Regions from separate parts of the Homo sapiens genome. Here region 2 is linked to region 1. The links are contacts of gene promoters, found by promoter capture Hi-C in human tissues and cell types (Jung and others, 2019). All regions are on one chromosome and are shown on one strand. The core of a region is centred on a gene start or on the middle of the fragment in contact, and the rest is flanking DNA. Distances in the headings are between cores, read along the strand shown.

Region 1 (2,585 bases), core at 55-2,554:
CCGGGTTCAAGCGATTCTAGTGCCTCAGCCTCCCCACGATTACACGATTGTAGGCATGCGCCACATGCCCAGTTAATTTTTTTATTTTTTGTAGAGATGGGGTTTCACCATGTTGGCCAGGCTGGTCTTGAATTCCTGACCTCAAGCAATCCACCCACCTTGGCCTCACAAAGTGCTGGGATTACAGGCATGAGCCACTATGCCCGGTCTATTTTTCTAATTTTATTGTTTTTTTTGAGGGGGGATGGAGTCTAGATCTGTTTCCCAGGCTGGAGTGCAGTGGCGCAGACTCGGCTCACTGCATCCTCTGCCCTGCCTCCTAGGTTCAACTGATTCTCCTGCCTCAGCCTCCTGAGGAGCTGGGATTACAGGCACGTGCCACCATGTCTGGCTAATGTTTGTAATTTTAGTAGAGACAAGGTTTCAACATGTTGGCCAGCCTGGTCTCGAACTCATGACCTCAAGTGATTCACCCGCCTCGGCCTCCCAAAGTGCTGGAATTACAGGCTGACTAATTTTATTGTCTATACATGCAGCCCCAACCAGAATATAAGCTCCATAAAATTGTGGATTTTTGTCTTATTCCCGCTGAATATAACAGCCCATGCCTAGAACAGTGCCTTGCTTTCATGAATATATTACATTCCGGCTGGCGCTTTCCTTCCTCCAATGCATGCACAGCTGAAAAAGCCCTTATCTCCCATCGCACTCCTGTTGCCTTGTCCCATGTTCTGACATAAAGCGGATCATCCACATGTGGGGATGAATCTTGTGCCCCGCTGGAAGAGATCCCTGTGGCTGCCGGCCCTGGTGCCTGGGGTGAGACCTAACAGTAGAGAGCTCACTACTAGGAAAGGAGAGGCATTCCCAACACAGAGAAGTAGGGGCGGACAGGTCCCGAGGCTGGAGGGCGTGTGCAGATGGGTCGGGGGAGCAAGGGGCTGTCAGCTTCATTAAGGCTGAGAGCAGGCAGGAGCGAAACAGCTGGCTTTGCTAGCCAGTTACACACTCACCGCTGTCCACGGATCCCTGACACTGGACGACTGTTGTGCCGGTGGCCCCCCCAGGCTGCTGCAGTCTGAGGAGAAAAGCCAGATGGTGACACTGCGTCTCTCCTGCCCCTTACCTCCAGGCACAGTGAGGGGCCCACCTGGGATATAGGCATCTCCCCGGAGCTGGTCAGGCAGATGGCCCCAGTTGGGGGGCTGTGGACGCCGACTCCTGACCAGGAAGGCGCGGGGCATGCCCTCCGGAAGGCTCTCCACACACAGGGGCTGCTTCCACCTGCTGTCAGACCTCAGCCCCAGGATGACTATCCCTGGTGGGAAAGGAGGGGAAGCCTCTGAGGAACCTCATTCTCTTCATGCAAATTTCCTGGCTGGCCCTGGGAGTGGACTAAGCTGGCTCAGGTTACCCCTGCCTGGGGACCTGCCCATCTTCTCCCAGGTTTTGGAGGGAACCATCCAGCCTCCAGGGGTGGACAAGCACTAGGACCACCAAGCAGAGCCAGGCAAGGGGAGATGGGCCTGGGGAGCTTTTGAGGATAGGAAGAAGAAACAAGGCCCCAGGGGGACTGTCTCCCAGGGGTTGAGGGTCTGTTTGCCAGGCAAATCAGTCACCAGGGGACATCCAGCAGCCTGCCTGGTTATTCAAATCACAGCAGCTGTCTGAGGACACTGAAGGGGCCCCCTGCTGTGATTGCCCTGCTCTGTAGGGTGCAGGGAGGACAGCAGATCTGGATAAATCAGGGCAAAATGAGGATCCAGGCTGTGCATCCTCAGGTAGGATGCCCCACCTCTCTGATCTTCAGATTCCCAGGGCTAACATTCAGCCAGAAGCACTGTTCAGGTGTAGCAGGCACTAAAATACTAGTTTGTTAATAATCTAGCCCCTAGTTACTGCCTGGGACAACACTCTTCCTCCCTCCCACAGTCTGGAAAGTAAAAGGGGGTCTCCTATTTTTTTTTCTTTTTTTGAGACGGAGTTTCACTCTTGTTGCCCAGGCTGGAGTGCAGTGGCACCATCTTGGCTCACTGGAACCTCCACCTCCCGGGTTCAAACGATTCTCCTGCCTCAGCCTCCTGAGTAGCTGGGACTACAGGCATGCACCACCACACCGGGCTAATTTTTGTATTTTTGGTAGAGACAGAGTTTCACCATGTTGGCCAGGCTAGTCTTGAACTCCTGACGTCAAGTGATCCGCCTGCCTTGGCCTCCCAAAGTGCTGGGATTACAGGCATGAGCCACCGCACCTGGCCCAAAGGGGGTCTCTTGACACAGCCAGGGGCTCCCAGGACCCTACCCCGGCACACTGGCCAAGCTGTTTTACACTTGATTCTTAGCCAGAAGACTAAGAAGCAATCCAAGCTCTGTTTTTTAATTTTTTTTTTTTGAGGCGGAGTTTTGCTCGTTGCCCAGGCTGGAGTGCAATGGCGTGATCTTGGCTCCTCTATGACCTCCGCCTCCTGGGTTCAAGTGAGTCTCCTGCCTCAGCCTTCCAAGTAGCTGGGATTACAGGGGCACACCACTGCACCCAGCTGATTTTTTGTGTTTTTTGTAGAGATGGGGTTTCACCATGTTGGCCA
Region 2 (2,585 bases), core at 40-2,539, 100 kb after region 1:
ACGCCCCTGAACACGCCGACCCACTCCTTGAGGCTTGCCCTCGAGCCCTGCATGCTCCTGGATGCTCTGACACTCCCTCAGCTGTGCGGTTGTCCTCTAATGTCCTGATGTCCTTGGGAACCCCCACTGCCTCTAACCTCTGCCTCACTCTCTCCTCACCTGGTCCTGGCTTCAGCCATGCTCTCTCAGCCCAGCTCTGCCTGTATTTCCTGGGGACTGCCTATTCCTGGGTCCCAGCCCCAGCCTCAGCCCCTTTGAGATCCCAGCTGCAGCTCCCACCGGCCGCTGACCCTTTGACGCCCCCATCTGCCACCTAGATCCTGCCCCCTCCCGAGGGACGGCAGAGCCCTCGCCCTCCCTTTCCAGCAGCCCCAGCCCAGGCCCCAGCAATTTTCACTCCTGAACCACCAAAGCCTCCATCATTGTGAGCACACTTGCTCTTCAGCTTTTGCCCCTGGGGACTAGCTGATCCCCGGAGGCTACCGACCTCTCGCCCACCCCCACCCCCCGACTTCTTGAGCCCTGCTGACCCTCAACCCGCCCTGCAGCCTCGGCCTCCGCCCCGGCCCACCACCTCGCTACTGCTGGAACCGCGCAGCCTGCTGGTGCTCCGCGGCCCCGCCTACACGCGTCTTCTCCACGGCATCGCCGCCGCCCGCGTAGACGCGCTGGACGCCGCCTCCTCGCCGCCCAATGCGGCAGCCTGCCCGTCGGCGCGGCCGGGAGCCTGCCTGGTGCGCGGCACCCGGGTCTCGCTGACCATCCGCCGCGTGCCCCGCGTGCTGCGCGCCGGCCTCCTGCTGGGCAAGTGACCGCCAGGGCCGGGACCCCTCGGATTCCCAGGTTCCTGCCCCTTTGGGGCTGCTGTGACTCCGCGACCTAGGAACCGTGGGCAAAGGGGGCTCCCCTGGGTTATTTATTTTCCCAATAATTTTGTGTGAGCTACAGAAGACCCCATACCAAATAAACAAAAAAATCTTTCCTTGGTTTTATATTTTTATTTTTTAGGGGCCAGATGCTTGGTTTCCTGAGGGGAGCGGCATCTAGGGTCTTAAATGAATGGGGTAGGCCCTGGAGGTCCGATTTCTGGGTTCCCAGTGGGGCAGAATCCAGGGCTCTTGAGGAGGTGGCGCAGGGGTTCTATCTGGAACCCTCTTGGATGGCGTGGAGTGATGCTGGGAGATTTAGCTACTGGCCTGCTAGGGAGGAAGGAGTTAAGTGACTCTTCTGTCACCTGAGCTGGGCATCAAATGGCCGGGTCCAGGTTCCTCTTGGAAGGGGCGGAGCCAGACCTGTCCTGGGCCTCTCCTGCAGCCTCAGGCCCGGGTGACTCCAGCGGAGGAGCTCTGGGACACCCTTGTCTAGGGAAGAGGTCTTACTGGCTGCCCTCACCTGACTTTGTGTCCCCAGGCCCCCAGCCATGGCCCTGTCCCTGCCTCTGGGCCCTAGACTTGGCTCAGAGCCCCTCAACCACCCACCGGGAGCACCTAGAGAGGCGGACATTGTTGGATGCACCGTCTGCCCCGCGTCCGGAGAGGAGAGCACGAGGTGGGGGCCGGGGCTTTGGAAGCTTGTTCCCAAAAGGGTAGGCGTGGTGGCAGGGGCCATGTGAGGGTAGGAGGTGCCATGGCTGTGATCGCCTGGGGACATAGGAGAGGCCACCAGGGTTGGGGTGACGGTAGGCTGAAAAGTGAGGTGTCGAGACTCACCCAGTCACCGCCCCCTGCCTCCTAGCCCAGAGCAGGCCCAGACCCTGGGACAGGACTCCTTGGGCCCTCCTGAGCACTTCCAGGGTGGGCCAAGGGGCAATGAGCCTGCCGCTCACCCCCCGAGATGGTCAACACCCTCTTCCTACGAGGACCCAGCTGGGGGCAAACACTGTGAGGTGAGCTGAGGTGACCCAGACCCCTTGTGCCAGCCCCACCTCCTCTCTGTCCCCTGGAGTCTGGCCTCCATACTGAGGACCGGGTGATGATTCTGGAAAGGTGTTGGGTGTCTGTAGGGGGAGGGACCTTCTGGAAAAGTGTTTCAATATCTGACCAACTGGGGAGACGTATTTCTTTCTTTCTTTTTTTTTTTGAGATGGAGTCTCTCTGTCACCTAGGCTGGAATGCAGTGGTGAGATCTCTGCTCACTGCAACCTCCGCCTCCCAGGTCCCAGTGATTCTCCTGCCTCAGCCACCCGAGTAGCTGGGATTACAGGCACATGCCACCATACCTGGCTAATTTTTTGTATTTTTAGTAGAGATGGGTTTTCGACTTGTTGGCCAGGCTAGTCTCGAACTCCCGACCTCAGGTGATCCACCCACCTCAGCCTCCCGAAGTGCTGGGATTACAGGCGTGCGTCACCGTGTCCAGCCATATTTCTTTTTTATTAAAAAAAAAAAAGTAGAGATGATGTCTCACCATGTTGCCCAGGCTGGTCTTGAACTCCTGGGCTCAAGTGATCCTCGGGCCTCGGCCTCCCAAAGTGCTGGGATTACAGATGTGAACCACTGCGCCCGGCTGAGAAGCATTTCATCATTGCTCCTGGTGTAGCCCCATTCTTCTTGGGGGGTACCCAGCCCCGCTCCCTGTCCAGACCC

The links. The method cuts DNA at HindIII sites, captures the fragments that hold promoters and counts their contacts. A contact is called where the count stands out against the background at its distance.
Region 2: a contact is called between the fragment with the promoter of SYNE4 here and the fragment with the promoter of OVOL3 in region 1, in 3 of the 25 tissues and cell types used here (dorsolateral prefrontal cortex, small bowel and spleen).

Annotation. Positions count from the first base shown.
Region 1 is chr19:36,109,862-36,112,446 of GRCh38, reverse strand. OVOL3 (ovo like zinc finger 3) reads right to left here and starts at 1,304. Exons shown (of 4, transcript NM_001302757.2): 1 at 1,151-1,304; 2 at 1,014-1,078. The coding sequence starts at 1,244. It also overlaps a transcript of WDR62 not described here. RefSeq lists enhancers at 445-1,074, 1,075-1,705. The HindIII fragment of the contact is 22,945 bases long and covers 1-2,585 here.
Region 2 is chr19:36,007,517-36,010,101 of GRCh38, reverse strand. SYNE4 (spectrin repeat containing nuclear envelope family member 4) reads left to right here and starts at 1,289. Exons shown (of 8, transcript NM_001039876.3): 1 at 1,289-1,548; 2 at 1,735-1,885. The coding sequence starts at 1,421. It overlaps ALKBH6 (alkB homolog 6), which reads left to right. Exons shown (of 7, transcript NM_032878.5): 7 at 549-982. The coding sequence ends at 812. RefSeq lists enhancers at 1,036-1,575, 1,576-2,117. The HindIII fragment of the contact is 19,934 bases long and covers 1-2,160 here.